Linked DNA regions of Homo sapiens: regions 2, 3, 4, 5 and 6 are each linked to region 1. Evidence: promoter capture Hi-C in 16 types of primary human blood cells and fetal thymus (Javierre and others, 2016). All regions are on one chromosome and are shown on one strand. The core of a region is centred on a gene start or on the middle of the fragment in contact, and the rest is flanking DNA. Distances in the headings are between cores, read along the strand shown.

Evidence for each region. The method cuts DNA at HindIII sites, captures the fragments that hold promoters and counts their contacts. A CHiCAGO score of 5 or more calls a contact.
Region 2: a fragment that was not itself captured here is called in contact with the fragment with the promoter of LEF1-AS1 in region 1 in 5 of 17 cell types (fetal thymus, non-activated CD4 T cells, total CD4 T cells and 2 more); the score reaches 8.7 in fetal thymus.
Region 3: a contact is called between a fragment that was not itself captured here and the fragment with the promoter of LEF1-AS1 in region 1, in 1 of 17 cell types (non-activated CD4 T cells). The highest score is 5.9, in non-activated CD4 T cells.
Region 4: a contact is called between a fragment that was not itself captured here and the fragment with the promoter of LEF1-AS1 in region 1, in 1 of 17 cell types (naive CD4 T cells). The highest score is 6.2, in naive CD4 T cells.
Region 5: a contact is called between a fragment that was not itself captured here and the fragment with the promoter of LEF1-AS1 in region 1, in 5 of 17 cell types (non-activated CD4 T cells, activated CD4 T cells, total CD4 T cells and 2 more). The highest score is 8.4, in non-activated CD4 T cells.
Region 6: a fragment that was not itself captured here is called in contact with the fragment with the promoter of LEF1-AS1 in region 1 in 7 of 17 cell types (fetal thymus, naive CD4 T cells, non-activated CD4 T cells and 4 more); the score reaches 13.0 in fetal thymus.

The regions. Positions count from the first base shown.
Region 1 is chr4:108,165,893-108,169,106 of GRCh38, forward strand. LEF1-AS1 (LEF1 antisense RNA 1) reads left to right here and starts at 1,633. Exons shown (of 3, transcript NR_029374.1): 1 at 1,633-1,941. LEF1 (lymphoid enhancer binding factor 1) reads right to left here and starts at 3,040. Exons shown (of 12, transcript NM_016269.5): 1 at 1,663-3,040. The coding sequence starts at 1,875. It overlaps LOC124900752, which reads left to right and starts at 2,047. Exons shown (of 2, transcript XM_047416528.1): 1 at 2,047-3,010. The coding sequence starts at 2,608. RefSeq lists silencers at 994-1,233, 2,990-3,039 and enhancers at 1,111-1,612, 2,640-2,729. The HindIII fragment of the contact is 8,163 bases long and covers 1-3,214 here.
Region 2 is chr4:108,400,048-108,403,261 of GRCh38, forward strand. It overlaps the pseudogene ZACNP1. Among named protein-coding and RNA genes, the nearest start is that of RPL34-DT, 220 kb to the right of the region's middle. The HindIII fragment of the contact is 256 bases long and covers 1,633-1,888 here.
Region 3 is chr4:108,377,597-108,380,810 of GRCh38, forward strand. No RefSeq gene overlaps it. Among named protein-coding and RNA genes, the nearest start is that of LEF1, 210 kb to the left of the region's middle. The HindIII fragment of the contact is 5,062 bases long and covers 1-3,214 here.
Region 4 is chr4:107,995,456-107,998,669 of GRCh38, forward strand. The region is part of intron 1 of HADH (hydroxyacyl-CoA dehydrogenase); the gene reads left to right. Among named protein-coding and RNA genes, the nearest start is that of HADH, 7.2 kb to the left of the region's middle. The HindIII fragment of the contact is 5,569 bases long and covers 1-3,214 here.
Region 5 is chr4:108,327,244-108,330,457 of GRCh38, forward strand. No RefSeq gene overlaps it. Among named protein-coding and RNA genes, the nearest start is that of LEF1, 160 kb to the left of the region's middle. The HindIII fragment of the contact is 2,965 bases long and covers 230-3,194 here.
Region 6 is chr4:108,015,655-108,018,868 of GRCh38, forward strand. The region is part of intron 3 of HADH (hydroxyacyl-CoA dehydrogenase); the gene reads left to right. Among named protein-coding and RNA genes, the nearest start is that of HADH, 27 kb to the left of the region's middle. The HindIII fragment of the contact is 3,162 bases long and covers 1-3,157 here.

The DNA.
Region 1 (3,214 bases), core at 383-2,882:
CATGCCCACTTAACACCCGAGTGCTCTCGGATTCGAACGCAGTGTCCTTCACCCGGACCAGAAAATTGTGGAGAATATGAAGTGGGTGGCAAAATTATTTATGGACTAAGGCAGGACTAGCAAAATGGGTAGAAAGAGAGGCTGCTCTACAAATAGGAGAGTTTGGCAAAAAGCCTGTGTTTTGGATGTTATTCGGTTCTCTGGACGTGTGTCCTCCCTTTGACCTCCTTTTCCCAGCACACAGTAGTCACAAATCTTTTACGCGGGGTTAGGTGCACCCTACCCCCGCCCCCAGCCCGCTCAAACTGGATTCAACGGGTAAAGAACACCATTCTGTTCTCTGAACGCAGGCCCCCAGCCTTTCAAAATTCGTACTCACCTCTGCCATTGGGATAGAGAAGGCAGATCTGAGGTGTTCTTAAACGCGCTGTTTAAAACCCAAAATGTCCCCGCCCTCAAAACCACACACTTTCTTTTTGGGGGTAGAAAGATGCCATTTAAGGAAAAAAAGGTATATCCTCCAAGTTTCTTTGGAGGGAAAAGGCGTTGGTTAAATCATTCGGGTGTCAGGACTTTTCTACCGGATTTCCTCCAGAGGGTTTCCCAGTTGTGGAACAAGGGTGACCAGTGGAGTGTCGGGTATCAGGGTCCATCCGCCCCCTAGACCAGCTCTGGACTAGGCTTCAAACAGCCCTCCAGCGCGGCCCTGCTCCGCGCTTTCTCTAGCCAGCACCCACGTGTCTCTATTTACTCTACTCAGGTTACCAGCTCTATCGCCCGCAGCGGGCCAGAAGACCCGATAAAGCGCCTTCCACCCTGCAGGACTAGTGCCCGGCTTCCGCTGCTTCTCCGCCTTTCTTCTGCGTAGATTTAAGGCCTGATCCGGTCCCAAACCCCAAATAAAAGTTGTGGGTTTGTTTCCAAGTGATGGCGGTTGGAGAAAACTAGAGTTGGGGGCGGTACAGCCAGGGTGTACCCTTGCGGTGGGTCGGCTCGGCGCACCCACAGCTCCCAGCTGCTAGCCCAGGCGCTGGGGCCGCAGGGACTGAACCCCGCACCGCCCCCGCAGCCCGGGTGCGCGCCCCATCGGCCGGCCTGCTCCCCGCGGCCCGGCTCACCGGTGGTAGGGACGGCCCCGCCTGCCCCAGCCCACGCCCGCCTCCCCTTCCTCCCGCCTGTGGCTCTGCTCGTCTCCACCTAAGCCTTTGGTGGTTTAACGCACTTTTGCAGAGACATCTACCAAGAGATAGCGTGTGCACTTTGTTTTCCGTCCCACGGAAGAATTTATCAGTAGCGTTATTCAGCCCTACTCGCTTTAAAGCACGGCACCCCTCAGCCCAACAAAAAGACCGAAGGCGAAACATTGTGGGTTCCTGCCCGCGAACCAACCGTTCAGCCACCGAACCCCCTAAACTGATCCATTTGGAATAAGTTACCCTGCCCCTCTACCTCCCATCCTACACACACACACACACACACACACACACACACACACACACACACTGCGGACCGGGGGCCCAGCTACGCACACACCCCAAAACAAACGAGGGATCTACTCGGGACCCTCAGCCGGGCGGCCGGGCGCCTTCGTTCCCTTCCTCCCTCTCTGAGTTTCCCAGGGACCCGCCACGCCTCTCGGAACTGGGGCAGCGGCCCGCTCACCTCGTGTCCGTTGCTGGCCGGGATGATTTCAGACTCGTTCACCAAGGAAGACTTGATGTCAGCTAAATCGCCTTCCTCTTCGGGATGACTGATCTCGGCGAAGATCTTTTCCTTCTGAGGATCGCCCTCGTCCTTGAAGGGGATCATCTCGTCCGTGGCGCAGAGTTCCGGGTCCCCCCCGCCGCCGCCACCTCCTCCGGAGAGTTGGGGCATCCCGGCGGCTCTGTAATCTCCGCTCCGCTGTGGGAGCACCCGCGCAACAGCAGGAAAGACAGAGGGGTAACTCAAGGGTGGGGGAGGAAAGGAGAGTTGGAAGGGTTCGTGCAGCAGGACAGCGGGCGGAAGCGGGGCGGGCGAGCGCGGGGCCGCCGGCCGGCAGCCGGAGCAGCTGCCGCGGCGCCCGAATCCCGGCGGCCGCCGCGCTTTCCCGCTTCGCGGAGACCGACGCAGGCGCCCGCCCCCGAGGCCGAAGGGCACTGGGCGGCGAGGGCTGCGGTAGCTGGCGACTCCGGGGGCGTCTGCGCGGCGCGCGCTAGACGAGGCTGCCCCGGCGGCCACCCCGCGACCCCGCGTCGCCGGGATTTGCGCGCGGAGAACGCCGGTTCTGGAGGGAGCACGCCTCCCCAAAGTGCAGAGGAGGGTCCGGCGGCGCGTCTCCGCGGAAACCCTCTCCACTGTAGTTACCCCGGATGCCGACTTAGTAGTTTGTTTTCCGAGAAAAGAGAGGGGATCTGGGCAGAAGGGCCCCGTTTGCCCCAAAAGAAGGTGCAAGGATCAGAAGATAACGAAACGTCCACTTCCTGAAGGGTGGGAAAAAAAGAAAAAGAAAAAGGAGCCACCCACGCTGGAGATGTCCGTTTTAGATCTTCTTATTTTCTTCCCTTTCGCTTCGGTTTTTCTTCTCGAGGCTCATTTAATCTGCTAGAGAAGGAGGAGGAGCAGAAGATGGGGGCCGAGGAGGAGGGGAAGAGAAAGAGAAGTTTGCCAAGAATAAAGTTTTTGCCGGCAAGCGCGGGGACTCCGCAGTGGAGGGCACTGCGGAGTCTCGGGGAGTCACAGCGGGGGCCTCGGGCCCAAATGCCTCTGCCCGGAGCTCGAGCCGACACACACACTCAGTCCGACCCCTCTTTGTTCCCGGCTCGAGTTTCTCAGCCTGGCTCGCCGGCTCGCCGCTCTGCACGCCTCCGCCGGCCAGCTCTGTCAAAGCAAAGAGCTGCGCCCCTTGAGTTCGCCCGGCCGAGGGGAGGGGACGCCCCGAGCTTGGCCGCGTGCGAGGCTCCGGGCGCGTCCTGGTTCCTCGGCCCGAGAGCGCGCAGCCCGGGTCCCTCCTCCGCGCCCTGCCCCGCAGGTGAGCGGCTGCGCCTCCCCACTGCTTCTCCTCCTCCCGCGCCTCGCCGGCGCTGAAAAGCTACCCACTTGCGTCGCTTCTCCTCCCTCTCCCCTCCCCCGCCTCTAGCTCTCCTTGGCTGCCCGCTGGAGGGGAGGCGGGGGGTGAGGGGGAGTCGGCGAGAAGGAGGTGGTGATTGAGGGCTTTTTTTTCTTTTTCTTTTCC
Region 2 (3,214 bases), core at 511-3,010, 230 kb after region 1:
CAGGAAATACGTGGTCCAAGGAGAAAGGGGCCTCAATGGGCTTTTTTGTTGTTGTGATTTTGCAAGCAATCCTGAAGTGAATGCCCACAAACTGCCCACACAATATGAATAGCAGCATTCATTTCCCAGGGCAGTGAGGCCAGAGCCAGGCCTGTTGGGAGATCCTGCCCTCCCTCAGCCTCTGGGTATCTTCAGCTCTGTGGCCACTTTCCCCTGACGCAGGTTTGGGATGGTGCAAGCCGGAGGGGATTAGCAGATACCAGGAGCTTCTTCCCTCTGATCCCTGCTCTTGGACTGTCTCCTTTCGGTCTTGGACCTTTTGCTTGGCTTCTTCACCTCAGTTTCTCTATCTATAAAATGGGGATAATGGTGTTTACTTACTTACCTCATGAGTGTTATAGGAATTAATTACTGTTTGTAAAGTACTTTGAAGATGAAAAGTGTGATGTGACATCATCATTATGATGATGAAATATCTTCCATCGTTACCGGCCAGATTCTGCCAGATTCAAGCAAACATTTCATTTTGGGTTCCAAATGAGACCTTCACAGCCACACATGCGTGAGTCAGTGCACACACACATGGTCTCACGGAATATCGAGAGGTGGAGAACAACAGAAGCCATTTTCACCTAAGAAAGCCTTCTTCCTGTAATCCCAGCACTTTTGGAGGCCTAGGAGGGCAGATCACGAGGTCAGGAGATCGAGACCATCCTGGCTAACACGGTGAAACCCCATCTCTACTAAAAATACAACAAAAAATTAGCCGGGTGTGGTGGTGGGCGCCTGTAGTCCCAGCTACTCGGGAGGCTGAGGCAGGAGAATGGCGTGAACCTGGGAGCTTGCAGTGAGCCAAGATCGCCCCACTGCACTCCAGCCTGGGAGACAGAGTGGGACTCCATTTCATAAAAAATAAATAAATAAAAATAAATTTAAAAAAATTAAAATTAAAATAAAAGAAAGGCTTCTTCCTATTTATGGGGCAATGGTAGTCAGGAGATTCGGGGGGTGACAAGTGGCAGTGATCAGTGGCTCCAAGATACAAAATAGTCTATCATGTATATGGTTCAGCAGGAGCAGAGCCAACCATTTCCACTTCAACCATGTGCTCACGGTACACAGCATAGATGCTAATGATGCCTTCTTATGGATAATTTTTGTCCTTACTTTTGTGGTAGGAGAGCCATAACAGGTTGGGCATATAAAACCCATCTGCCACCTTGACTTTCACAAAGATGAAGTGCCTCTGCAAAGTTTCCTTCCATAAAAGGCCACAGAAACAAAAACATTCTCAGGATTTCAGTATCTTAAAGTATTAGATCATCCCTCTTCTCCAATGAGTATAATCTAACTTTTTGGAATGTTTAGAGGCAAAAAGTGAAATTTTGTCAAACTACCTTTTATTTGCATTCTGGTGTTGTCCTATGGCTGACTGTGGGAATGTTTTCTCATTCTTTGTCCTCATCTGGTTAAAAAACAGTGTGTGTGGCAGATTGTGTTTGTTAGTGGGGCTGAATATGTGGGGATGCTAGGGCGAGATTATTAAAGAAAGAAGGGTCTGTACTGGGGGAAGAAATCGGTTAAGTTAGAGTTTATATCTGGCCCCTGTGGTTGATTTATTTGAAAGTGTTAAGCTTCTAATGTAGCATAGGCAAAATTTACTTAAATCTAATTTTGCTATGAAAGAAAAATCGGCAACAACCCAAATTCCAGAAGAAACCATTTATGATTATGCTGTTTGTTTATATAATAATCTAGATACTTCTTTTCCTAGTAGAGTAATTACATCTAGGAAGCCAGGAGGTAACTATGCGAATTACCCTGAAGGGCAGGAACACCAGGTAGGGAACAAGCCAACTCAAATTATGTATTCAAATGGAGCGCACAAAGCTTTCCCGTTTATGGCAGATTGTGTTCTTGACATGGAGTTTGAAAATCCAAATACTGTAAGTCAAATGTGATTTCTAAATAGAAACCGTTGTGTAATAGGAAGTTAGGCCCTGGTTACAGGTATAATGGCCAATTGGTTTCTTTATTACAAAAGTAATTCATGTTCATGATTTTTAAAACTAAATAAGAAAAAAGTATTCATAATCCTTCTGCCTAGAGATAACCACTGTTTATGTTTCAGTGACACTGTTCTTTCAGAACTTAGATGTATGTGTTTTTTTTAAAAAATGAATAATACTGAACATAAGGTTTTATAACCTTTTAAATACATTTATTATAAAATTTTGCCACATTAATAAAATAAATTTTAGTGTGGGTTGATACAATTATAAATAAGGGTGGTACAGATTGCCATATGCATACTGGCTATGTATTTCTTAAAACTGGAATTTCTTGTTCGTATTCCAAGCCTATGTTTTTTATTTTCATTTTTATTTTATTTTTTATAATTTCAACTTTTACTTTCAATGCAGGGGGTACATATACAGGTTTGTTACATGGGTATATTGCATGATGCTGAGGTTTGGGATGCAAATGATCTGTCACAGGTAGTGAGCATAGTACCCAATGGGTAGTTTTTCAGCCCTTGTCCCTCTCCCTCTCTCCCACTTCTTGCAGTCACTAGTTTCTATTTTTCCCATCTTTACGTCCATTTGTACCCAATGCTTAGCTCCCATTTATAATTGAGAACATGCAGCATTTGGTTTTCTGTTCCCGTGTTAATTCACCAAACCTGTTTTTTAAAATGGAAAGTTGATTTTATTGTCATCATAATCATCATCATTAGTTCATTAGAGATGTTAAAAATGAAGACATTAACCTCTCATGAGACATGTTTTCCGAATATTTGTACAATTTTTTCTTTTAACTTTTATAGCATTTTCTTTTGAAATTTTATAGCATTTTATTTTGATTTAAGAAAAAAATGTTTAAATTTTGTATAATTGTATCTATATATTCTTTATAATTTTTGCATTGGTGTCATGCTTAGAAAACTTCTTATATCCTCAAATTATGTAAATATTCACCATTAACTTAGCCTATAACTGTATATGCACACACACACACACACACAGACACACATTTAGTTCTGAAATTATTTGTGTATGTCTTGTGGGGAGATTAGAAATACTTGGTAATTTTTGGTAGACAGAGTCCCAGGAATGAGGAACTAATTTTTCCTCATTTCTATTTTTTTTATTTTTTTTTCTGAGTAGGCAAAAGTAGACTTCACGTTATTTGGTTATCTGTGACCTTTCTAAGG
Region 3 (3,214 bases), core at 265-2,764, 210 kb after region 1:
TGGTTTGATGGGTTCAGGGGATGAAAAATCAATTGCTTAACAGGGGTGAAGTGGGTTTCATAAGGAGGGAAGAGGGCAGTTGTAAGGCAAAAATACCTGGGGAGGGGTAGAGACCGAAGCAAATCTCCAAGTGAATGTTTTGTCCAGAGGGGACAGCCACTACTCAATTCTAACTGATGTTAGGTGTGATTCAAGCCCAGTGTGGCCAGATTTTTTTTTTCTTTCTAGAGAAGACAACAACCTTTTTTTTCTGTGAAATCTCTGAAACTGTAAATATTTGCAACATATTTATTATTTTTAAGCCATTTGTAGACCAAAGAAAACATATCTCTGGGCCTTCAGATTTCCCTGCAATAAACATTCACTCTACAATTATTTGCTGAGTACCTACGATGTGCCTGGCACTGTTTTGGGAGCCAGCAGATATAAAAATGCAAAAGACATGGATCGTGTTTTCAAATCCTTCGTTAAGCAAAGGAGAGAGACAGAAGCAGAAGCAGATGTAATAATAAGTGCTGGAATGGAACTAAAGGCTATACATCCACAGTAAAGGAAAGGGCAATCTCAGTTTCTGAGATTGGAGGTCTGGAATCACAAGAAGCGTTTTATCTCCTAGAGAGGTGGTTGCGGGGAAGGCATCAGGGAGAGAGGAAACAGCATTGCCAAAGGCATGCAGGGGAACACTGCACAGCACATGCGAAAACCAGGAGTGACCTTGTGGGGCTGCTGTGCAGGGCAAGTGGCAGGTGGGGAGGCTGGCTCTGAAAAGCCCCCACCTCCAGGCACCTTGCATTCTCCAGATCTTCGTTTTAACTGGTGGTGCCTGACTTTTCTGGGTCTCAGGTTGATCCAAGAATGGCAGAATACACTTCCATTTACCTCCGACACTCTCTGTGGAGTGTGACAGCTGAGGATCCAGGCACCATGGCAGTCTAAAAGTCTGCTGGGGACCCCCGCATGGATATGCTCTCCTTTATCCATGGCCGGCACACATCTGCAGCCGCTCTGTCTTGATTCACTGTCTGCACCTCTCATCCCATTGTAACTGTATCCGTTCAGCATCTGGGTGCTTCAATACCTATCCCTACTCAGCATCTGTTTACAGTTGAATACGTTGAATGGCAGCAGCACTGATTTCACCAACAGCTAAATTTTTAACATTAGGTAATTGGTTATCTTTCCTCAAACTTACACATCTGCCAAATCCATATGGGCGTCCTTAGTAATCTGTGAATATAATTCAGTTTTGCTGGCACTACCTAATATGGTGCCTGTCTTTTGTTTTTTAAAGACTTGCCTTTATCCTCCTAGTCTGAGTTGTACAGGTCATCAGACAACTATCCTGATTGACAGAGAGAAATATTGCCTTTTTTCTACATGAGCTGTAACTATGGGGCAGCATAGCATGGTGGTTAAACTTCTGAGTCTGGTGATAGGATTCAAATCCCAGCTCCATATCTGAACCATTGTGGTCACTTTACCTCTCCATGTTTGTTTACCATGCAGTACCTCATAGACTAAATGAGTTAATATAAGCAAAACACTTAGCACCTGACACACAGATGTATATGAGCATTAGCTATTATTATTAGTGATATTATTATTTCCAATGGTCCCAAATTGATAGAGGAGAACAGCTTTTTTAAAAAAAATTATATCTTCGACTGGGCCATATCCTTCTCCAGCTCTATATTTGAATTGTGCAATTTTTGTAGGGGAACAGAGTAGATTAGATAAGGTTTAAAAACCTTTTCTTTTAAGCAGACAGACATTCATGGGTATAGAATATTTTTTTCTTCTTTGTATTAACTGCTATGTGTAATTCTAGAATTTATCATCAAATTGGCTAGAATACGTTTTCCCTAGATTGAAGTAATAATAATCTCATTTGCCCCAACTCCAAAGCCCTTTGAAGTTAAACATTGAGAGGAAGAATGGTGGGGCCACTCAGCAGAGATTAGATCTTGTTTTAAACACTAGCTGCTCTGAGAATAATTTCCTTAATTAATATTCACAAGATATCATACACTTGAGACTATATTTTCATGTAACCTACTTGCATGTAATTGTTCGCTAAGGCTCTTCACTTCATTTGTATCTTCCTTTTGTGTCAGTATTCAACAAAATCATTTCCATCTAAAAGCAGTGCTGAAGGGGGTGGAGGTTCATTGGGTCTCCCCTTCCGTGTGAAAGCCAGCACACATGGGCTTTCATCTCATTTCTAAAGTTAATATTGTTTTGTGCTTATTCCTGTTCTTAACTAGATGCACATAGCTCCCAGACTTGCTCTCCTTTGTGGACTCAAGCCCTGAACATGTTCAGGTGTTGCCTTCTTGTCAGTCTCTTGTTACAGGGTGAGGAGCTTATCAAAGCACCCTGGAGTGTCAACTGGCCAAAGAGTCTTAAAACCCTGAAGTAGCCACATTTGCCATCAGTAACAGCATCTGAGGGGATCAGTCTGGGTCAGGAAACCAAAGATTGTCAACTTAAAGGACTTTAGGTTATTCAGGAGTCAGCTTGCCCAAAGGTCAGTGAAAGGAGCTAAGATAACTTGGAAGGAAATCTTTCTATATGAAGCCTTGTCAGTTTTGCATATTTCTCAGAAGAAATTTAAAAATTAAAAAGTTATCTTTTACACACTTTTGTTTAAGTTTAAATAAATTTGCTAACTGTTTAAGGTCTATCTGTTAGTCTATTTTTTGCTGCTATAACAAAATGCGACCGGCTGAGTAAATTATAAAGAACAAAAGTTTATTTGGCTCACAGTTCTGGAGGCTGGGTAGTTCAAGAGCATGGCACCAGCATCTGGTGAGGATCACCCCATGGCAGAAAGCAGAAAAGCAAGTGAGTGTGTGAGACAGAGAGAGAACAGGGGCCAAAATCATCCTTTTAGGAGGAGCCCACTCCCATGACGATGGCATTAATTCATTCATGAGGGCAGAACCCTCCTGATCTAATCATCTCGTAAGAGTCCCAACTTATCATACTGCCATAATGACAATTAAATTTCAACATGAGTTTTGGAGGAGACATTCAAACCACAGCAGTCTCCAACCAGTGACTTTCCTACATTTGCAAATGCTTTTAAAGCAAAACAACATCCTCACCTCCCTCCATATACAACAAGCAGAAATACTTTTTGCTCGCTTGTTTTGTTTTAGTAACAAGTTGGGTGCAATTTTTAAAATAGCTGACTACAGGCTGGGCATGGTGG
Region 4 (3,214 bases), core at 474-2,973, 170 kb before region 1:
TAGATTGTCTTCACTGTCGGAAGAGTTTTGATATAGGGAGTTCCAGCAATTCTAAAGATGTTAAGACTTATTTATGTGGGTTGTTGAGAAAGATAGTGTACCATTTACTGGTTTTTGTAGAGCTAAAACCACTCTACAAAATATGACACTTTATTCTGTTCAAAGAATTTTGATTTATTTAATTTCATGTGACCATTACAATAATCACCCCTGCAGAGATGGTTCCTGGGGTCAATGGTCAGAGGCAGAGCTGGGGTTAGAACTTGAGTTCTCTTCTGTTCTGCTGCCTGTAAATCCCCAAGCCTGAATTCAGTTCTGCCTGCACCTCTGGCAAGTGCTGTATTGTGGGGAGAAGTGTGGCATCCATGGCAGGGGATCCTCTGTGGCTCTCTGGAATCAGTACATCCCAGGTTGACGTCTCCTTGGCTCTGGACTCAAAGTTAGTCTACCTGCTGGTCGTCTACATCAGGGTGCTGTGCTGCCATCCTTCTGCCCATGGTAGACTCAAACTCACCTGCCAAGATCTAATTCATTATTTCCCCTCCAGCTTTTTCCAGAGAGCTTGCCCCTCCTGTTGCTGCAGTTGTTCTTCCAGCCACATGTACTCTGAAGATGGGATCACAATCAGTGTCTCCATACCAGAAAAGGCTCTGTAACTTTTTGGTCATGGGAGAGCTCTTTCCTCTGCCCTCTCCTTTGCAGTTCCTAGACCAGGTGTGTTAACCTGAATTGTCATGGGAGCCTCTTAATTGGTCCTTTCAGCAAAAACTAAAAGAAAAAACCCACTCATCATGGCAAACATTGTCATATTAGTCTTCCTGGAGAGGCATTTGGATTTATAACTCTCCTCTACCCGGAAAGTGTCCATCATAGCAACATCTTCCAGGGATTCTTAAATATAACGATGCTGTTGACATGTCTGGTTATCCCTTTACCTTTTCAGAATTTGTGGGAGGTGAGAAGTCTGGGAGAGGTTATCTGGGTTATTATGAAACCTACACACTTACTGAATTAAAAAAAAACTATGTAACACAATTCTAGTCTAAAAATGGGCGCACACTTTCTTTGCCTTTTAGAAATACTTTTTGAAATGTAAAATTCGAAGTCTAATAAAGGAGTCTGTCCAATTAATTTAACTGTTTGAAGAAAAAAACCAGTCCAGGCATGGTGGCTTACGCCTGTAATCCCATCACTTTGGGAGGCTGAGGCGAGCAGATCACTTGAAGTCAGGAGTTCGAGACTAGCCTGGCCAACAAAGTTAAACCCTGTCTCTACTAAAAATACAAAAATTAGCTGAGCATGGTGACACATGCCTGCAGTCCCAGCTATTCAGGAGACTGAGGTGGAAGAATTGCTTGAACCCAGGAGGCGGAGGATGCAGTGAGCCAAGATCACACCACTACACTGCAGCCTGGCCAACAGAGCAAGACTCCTTCTCAAAAAAAAAAAAAAAAAGAACAAACCAGCTGGTTGTGGTGGTGGTGGTTGACATCCTCAACAGAACAGCTTTTGCTAATTGTTGAAGTCAGGGAAGACAACTTGTGCTGATGGCAGAGTTCAAGACATTACACAACCAGAGACAATCATAAACCCAGAAATGCCAGCCCTGAGAGATGCAACTGATGTATGACTTTTTTCCTCTCTGGATCAAACCATGACAACCGTAAAAGGCAGGCCTTGCTGTTAAGGCGCTGCAGCCTCTGAAGCACAGTTGGCCTCAGGGAGCTCTGACTCAGTCTACTTATTCTGGGGATCTGAAGAAAGTCAGAAATCATGTGTGGTAGATAGTTTGCATAACTTTGGGATTTTCCAGAGAGAGGATGAAAACGGTGGCCCTCCTTGTAATGTCTAGGCACATGGGACATCCAGTGGAACTGTTGAGGGAGGAGATGGGAGGGAGACCAGTCACCAGACCAGTTGATGTAGGTCTCATAGACTCACCACTCAAGTTGTGCTTCGGAGAAAGCTGCTTCAAATCTTCTTGATACATTTACAAAGATAAATAAATCCAGTGTGCTTCTGCTTGGCATGTTTACTTGGTCCTGTGGTCAGAGTGCTCTGGGGCTTTGACAAATGTGCTAGTCACTTAGCCTATTTTTACAACTCTGAAGCAGCCGTGTCTAAAAATATTTCCTCTCTGGCTGAGCCTGCCTTCCACCAGGCCTAGAAAAGTCATGGAGCTGAGGACATAGCCTTCAAATATTTTTTTTTCCATTGCAGACTGCTTGTCCTCAAGGTCTTACCAGCATGTAGGTCACTGTAATATAAAACATGAGTTCTCAATGGATTGATTTAAATTGTGGTCACTCAAACTGCCAGGAAGAGTCCTCCTCATTTGTTGTAAAAATAACAGATGTCTATGAAAGGAGAAGAAGAAGGCCTTTCTTTTTTTGCAGTTCATTTCTCCACTGCCTTCTCCATCCCAGAAAGTTGGCGGTAACTTGGGTGTTACTGAATTACTCAGGAGAATGAATTGTACTTGTTTCTCTGTAGTTATTTTCTAAATAAGAGGTTACGTTATCAGGAGAGGCCATCAGCTACAGCAGTGGAAAGAGCCACCAGGTCTCATCTTGACTTTACCAACAAATGTCTTTATTCAGTCAACATTCCCTGAGGGCCAGCCACAGCCAGGCAGGGTCTAGGTTCTCAGTGTACAAAGATGAATGACATTTGGTCAGGAGCCTACAGTAGAGGAGTTCAGATTACTATAACACAGTTTGGTAGGTGCTGTGGTACACAGATGCAGGGATGTTACAGGGCATATGGGGGACATCTAGCTTAGGGCTGAGAGGATCTTGGGGAGTAGGCTTACTAACTGGAAATGATTGTTTTGTTTTGTTTTGAGACAGAGTCTCTCTCTATCACCCAGGCTAGAGTGCAGAGGCGTGATCTTGGCTCACTGCAGTGTCCACCTCCCAGGTTCAAGCAATTCTTCTGCCTCAGCCTCCTGAGGAGCTGGCATTGCAGGCGTGCACCACCATGCCTGGCTAATTTTTGTATTTTTAGTAGAGACAGGGTTTCACCATGTTGGTCAGGCTGGTCTCTAACTCCCGACCTCATGATCTGCCCGCCTTAGCCTCCCAAAGTCCTGGGATTGCAAGTGTGAGCTACCGCGCCCGGCTGATTTTTAGGCTTAGTTAATAGGTGAAGTTGGGGAGAAGGTGAGGCCAAGAGAAGGGCTGGAGTTGAGAGGCAGATGTAGGGAGCTACTGGC
Region 5 (3,214 bases), core at 462-2,961, 160 kb after region 1:
GAAATAATGGCAGGCAAAATCATGACCTATTACTTCCATAAGATGAGGTCCAAGTACTACAATTGCTGGCACAAAAGGTATGACTCTCAGTTTTTTCAGGCTTTTGATATGTGATGCTTCATGGGTTTGCTCTGAAAGTATTCATATATTATAAATGTAATCCAGATTTAGCTGTCCTCTTGTCAAACAGGCTGTTGACCAAATGTAAAACCAGCATTCTGACCTAGCAAGCTTCAACATTTTATGTAAGAAACACAGCCATATTCAGAATGTTAAATTCTGTTTTTCATTGCCTTTGCTGAAGATCATACAGGAGTCTGTATCCCTAACTCTAACAACTCACAATAAAACACTTCGTAAATCCCAGTTAGACATTTTAGTTTTCTGTATCATCTCCCAGGGATGCTCTCTTGGCTGGGGGAATGTTTTTCCTCCAGCCTCTCTTTATAGAGCCACATTCTTGCCTACTTCCTTCTTCTTCTCCTTATTGCATTTTCTCCCCCCTAGAAACTTCAATTACTCCCGCTATTTTATCATGTAGAGCACCTGCTCACTTTCTTATGAAACTAGGGCCCCGCGCAGAGAGGCAGGTGGTTGCTACTAGCTTGTACTATTTTCTTTAGGTCTCAACATGTTTGTGTCTCTTCCTACAAAGAAATTCTCTGACCCTAACCACATAGAGGAAAACATTTGTTCTTCTCCTTTTTCCCTTAAGTTACTTCCTTAGAGCGCTGAAAGCCAAATTCTGACATTCTCATGCTATCTGTATCGTGGGATTCTACTGGGAGTCATGCATTACCTATATTTGATGGATGTACTTGGTACACTCAGGCTTCCTCCGTAAGTCATTCCTTCTTCCCCTCCCCTCAGTGCCTATTTGTCTCAGGTCTTGAGCTTCAGGTACTGAAAGATTTGAACTGGAGTCTTATCTCCACAACTTACTAAGTTTGTGAATTTAAACATATTTTACTACTCTGAGTCATTGTATCCACATCTATAAAATAGCACCTACCTATGAAGAGTAAATGTGTTAACACACACAAGTTAGCACAGTGGCCTGAGAAAATGCCCAACAAATGTTGACTGTTATTATGCCACTCTTCTTTTTGGCATTTCTGCCCTCTCGATACCTTCTTGGTATAGGCATTAATTTGTTAGTTTCCCTAATTTCTTCATCATTCATCTTTCCTCTGTAGAAACCTCAGATGAGGTTAAGTGAAACCCGCTACCGTGTCTTCACTTCTCAGAGGATACTTTGTTCCTCTTGTCTTCTTCTTGTACTTTCTTATTTATCCTTAGCTTCTGGAAATACCTTTCTTTGCCTATAGTGCCCTTGAACTCTATCTTCTTCATTTCCTGTGGTTTATTTAAGTTCCTGCTTACCACCTCTTCTGTCTCCTCCAGTCTCTGATGACTTTCCTTTGTGCCTTTGGACACTCAGATTTCTTTTCCCTTTTCATACTTGTCCTTCACATTTGGCTCAGTGACACTATTCTCTTATGCATACAAATTCTTTTCATCTTTGTAGAGATTACATGTAATTCTCTTTTACAGAGAGAAACAGCATTCATTTATTCATTCATTGAGTGAATGTTATTGAGAGCCTGCTATCTTCAAGGGACTGGATCGAGTCTTTGGGAGACAGAAATTAAAGGCACAGTTCCTGCTCTTGAAGAGCTCACAGTCTATTGGGGAAGAAGATGAATAAACAAATTCCACTTTGGTAACGTGTCTATGAAAGGGCCAATGCAAGGTGAATTGAGAAGGGGCAATTAGTAGAAATTGAGGTGGAAGGAAGAGGTGTGAAGGAAAGCATTCCAGAACTGTTGACATCAGAGTTGAGTTTCAAAGCATGAAAAGAAATAAGCCAGGAGGAGTGGGCTGTGAATATGTTGGGAGTGCAGATTCTAGTTAGGGGGGGCAATGTTTGCCTCTGCATTACGTCAAATCCTTCATAGTTGTGGAATATAAAGTAGTTCAGCCACTGTGGAAAGCCGTTTGGAGATTTCTCAAGGAACTAAAAACAGAACTATCATTTGACTCAGCAATCTCATGACTGAGTATATACCCAAAGGAAAAGAAATCACTCTACCAAAAAGACACATACAGCTATATGTTCATCACAACACTATTCATAGTAACAAAGACATGGAATCAACCTAGGTGGCCATCAACAGAGGATTAGATAAAGAAAATGTGGTACACATACAACATGGAATACTCTGCAGCCATAAAAAGAATGAAATCATGTCCTTTGCAGCAACATGGATGCAGCTGGAGGCCAATATCCTAAGTGAACTAATGTGAAACAGAAAACCAAACGCCGTATGTTTTCATTTGTAAATGAGAGCTAAACATTGGATACACGTGGTCAGAAAGATGGGAACAATAGATGCTGGAGACTACTAGAGGGAGGGAGGAGGGAGGGAGGAGGGAGGGAGGGAGGGGGACAAGGGCTGAAAAACTACCTGTTGGGTACTATGCTCAGTACCTGGGTGATGGGTTCAACTGGACCCTAAACCTCATCATCACACAATATACTCTTGTAACAAACCTGGACGTGTACCCCTGAATCTAAAATAAAAGATGGAGGAAAAATCTTTCATAGCTGAATTACTTGACTACTCATTGTATCAGATGATTTTTTGAAACCTAGCTACAGGATGTCCTGTAGCTGCATTCCTTATCAATGATAACCTTTCTTGACTAACAAATAAAAAGAATTGCTGCTTAGGTAATCCTGTGTTCTTTTTTGATAAAGCCCTATTTCATATTTACCTCCTTGCCAATCTAAACTAGTCTATAATTTTTAAACCTACTGTTTTATTCATGAAGATGATAAAAATGTTGTTTGCACTGATCTGTTAAATAAAATAGCCACACAGTTCTGACATCTTTTCTTCTGATGTATTTTCTAAACTTTGCATAAAAGTTCTCACTTCTAATGGTTTTAATTACTGCAAATAAATATGCCCCATGGGTTTATTCCAATGAATTGATAACCAGGTTCCCTCCCATCTTATGGTCTCTTGACTTCATAACAAAACTATCTTCAAAGGGGTCCAGTCTTCACAGGATCCATATTTGTTATTACTATTTTTGTAGTGCCCTCCTCCTTCCTGCTCTTCCCACTCCTCCTCCTTCCCCTTCCTTCCTCGTTTGCCCTTTCTTATCATCCCTCAACTCACAACAGAAGCTTGTAGCTCAGTAAATA
Region 6 (3,214 bases), core at 327-2,826, 150 kb before region 1:
GGGCTGCTGTGATCTGATCCTTGTCCCAGATGCGTGTAGAATTACCCATGGTAACATGGAGGGGTCCATCCAGGGACAGGCCTATGTTTCTTGAAGTGTGTAGGTCATGGATACTCCTATGCCAGAAGCTGCTCTGACGTTCCTTGGTTCATTTCACACTGGCATCTAGAGGCTGCAGAGACATCTGACAGCAGACAGTTAAGGACATGTAGGGTACTTCTGTGCTCCACTCTCGGGCATAGGAGTACCCTACGTGTCCTTAACTGTCTGCCAAGGACCCTCAGAGCAGTTCTGTGTTTCCTCCTTTTTTGGATGGAGCAAACAGAATGGTGTAATTGAAGGGAATGCCTATAGACAGAGAGGACTTTCCTGTTTTGAGCTTCATCTGGGTTCAATCGAAGTACTCTTGGGAGTGTTAAAGGAGCATTGACTTCTTAGCTGGCTGGCTTCCTGGTGGAATTCTTCCTGGCAGAATGTACCTTGGGATCCAGAGCCTTCGAGTGTGTGACACCTGACCCACTGATCAGTGCTCTTCTAGTGACTTGTTTGACTATATTTTCATGCTTCTTGGTTGGAATTGAATGGCAGAATAAGATTATATGACAAAAGCAATTCTCAGGGCACTTCCGGTGGGCAGTGGCTAAAGAGAGTCACTTGCATACCAGCTTGTCGGAATGTTAACCTTCAGAGATGGGTGGCCTTGTGGCCAGAGAGGCCCTGCCCCTGACAAAGAGAAGAGACTTGCCTTTCTGTCATCTGTCCATCACTGCCAATCAGTGTCCTCGTGCATTTCACACTGGCATCTAGAGGCTACAGAGACATCTGACAAAAACAGAATATACTTGTGGTACCGGGACTGGCTCCCAGGCCAGCAGGGAGCCCTCTGGGATAATAAACAGCCACCCCAAAAAAGGGAGTTTTGTCAAGCAGTTTGATCTTTATTGAAAAGATTGGTCGCTCTTGGTGACAGTGAAAGGCCTGACTGCCCTCCATTGTCCATGTCTGGTACAGAAGAAGGATCACTGGAGAAAGTCAGGAGGCCTGGGCCTGGTGCTGACCCCCTCACCACCTCCAGCCTTGGAAAGGTCCTCAGTTTCGTCATCTGTAATGCAAGTTGAGGTGATTGGGGTAAATAATTTCCTAGACCTTTCTGGCTCTAACTCTCTAAGACTAGCTTCCCCCATTTGTAAAATAGGAGCAGCAGCACTGGTACCTATTGTACAGAGTTGTTTAGGAAACTCATTTCATTTAGCTCACATTTCCTGAGTGCCTGCTGTGTATCAGGCACTACACTAGGCTCTTTAACCTGAATTGATGCAAAACAGATATGAGGTGTGAAAAGAAGGCATGACCCATAGTCATACCAAAGATGTGACTTTGCTGCTGACCTTCTCCACCTTTCTTGGCACTGTTTGTTTTTGTTTTAGATCACCACCATTATTGAATGCTTGCTACAATTTTTAAGCAGCCGTATTGAGAGGTACTTTACTGACAAATTTTACAGTTCGATCCTATAATGGGAGAAGAAAATATAGTCAAGTGATACATTTCGGGTTGGAAGCCCTGATGAAACAGTTGCATCCTGGAGAGAACATGACTTCTCTAGCAGCAGCCTAAGACACACAAATGAAAAGTATGACCAGACGCACAGGCAGCCAGATCGAAGTCCTGACTTTCCCCTTTAGACAAAGTACAGACTCTTGAATCCTTTGCCATCCCCACCAACCCTCTTGTCTTCTTTATACTAGGGTCTGGGGCCATTGCTAATAATCACTGTGCTTGTGTTGTCGATTTTCTTTTAGAACATTTAAGAGAAAAGTAGTTTTTTTGGTACCTGAGTGTCCGAATGAAAAAAACAAAAGATGGTTCAAGACAAGTGTTTCCAGGAACATGTAAGAGTACTTTTTTTTTTTTTTTGAGACGGAGTCTCGCTCTGTCGCCCAGGCTGGAGTGCAGTGGCATGATCTTAAGCTCACTGAAACCTCTGCCCCCCAGGTTCAAGCAATTCTCCTGCCTCAGCCTCCCTAGTGGCTGGGATTACAGGCATGCGCTACCATGCCCAGCTAATTTTTGTATTTTTAGTAGAGACGGGGCATGTTGGCCAGGCTCGTCTCGAACTCCTGACTTCAAGTGATCCACCTGCCTCGGCCTCCTAAAGTGCTGGTATTACAAGTGTGAGCCACCGTGCCCAGCCCAGAGTACATTTTGTTTGTGGATGAAAAGACTGTCCTATGTGTTTAGTATTCTCTGAAGACAGTGTGAGACTTTTAGGAACAAAGTCAGCCTGACCCTGTTGGGAGAGGCAGAAGCAGAGGTCTGCTGGGGAGAGATCATTTCCTCCTTCTGATAAAATGTGCCAGAGTGCCCTGGACTGGTGATACCTGGAACTGGGCTCTGATGTCACTTTATTTTACCAAATGTGCCCAAGTTTCCCCTTTTTGCAGGTGAATGGCCCTTCAAACATTCTACAAAAAGGGGTATTACGATTGTAATACTAATCTTTAAAATAACACTTTCTTTTCTTAACGGGAGTGTGGAGCCACAGCTGGCACAGCCTTGGGCCCAGGCTGTCCCTGCTCTGTTTTTGTGGTTCCAGGTGCTTGTGGTGCAGGTTGTGTGGTTGAACAGTGCTTGTGTTGGCCACACACATTGTTATTGGAAGAGGATCTTTTTTTCATTACCTTCTGTAATGGGGAATAGTTTATATTATTTTCCCCAATGACCAAAAGCAAGAAACTTTGAAAACTGAAATTTTAAGACCTTAAAACAATGTCATTTTTTTTTTAAAAAGGAAACCCTGGCATTTAAATGGCCTACCTTGGAAGCTGTTGGAGAAGGTGGATGTGCTCATACCTGGAAAGAGAAGGCTCTCCGCTGCCTACCCACACTGGTCTCGCCTTTTACCTCTTTTCCCTCCTTTCCAAATAACTGGTTTCTTCTCCCTTCTCTTCCTCCTCTCCTCCCACCCGCCCCTGATTTGAGCAGATTATAGTATTGCCTGTTAGGTAAGCAGAAACCCCCAAGCCTGGTCAGTAAGGGATCCTTTCCTTTCCTGCCCTGTTACAGTCCATCTTGGTTGGAATCAGCACCAGGCCTGTTTGTATGTTTTTATCCGCAAGGTGGCGCTGCAGGAAAGCCTGGAAGTCAACCTGTTTAAAGCTTTTCCTCTCATGCTTTTGGCACGCCACTTTACTGTGGCCTTAAAGAACTAAAT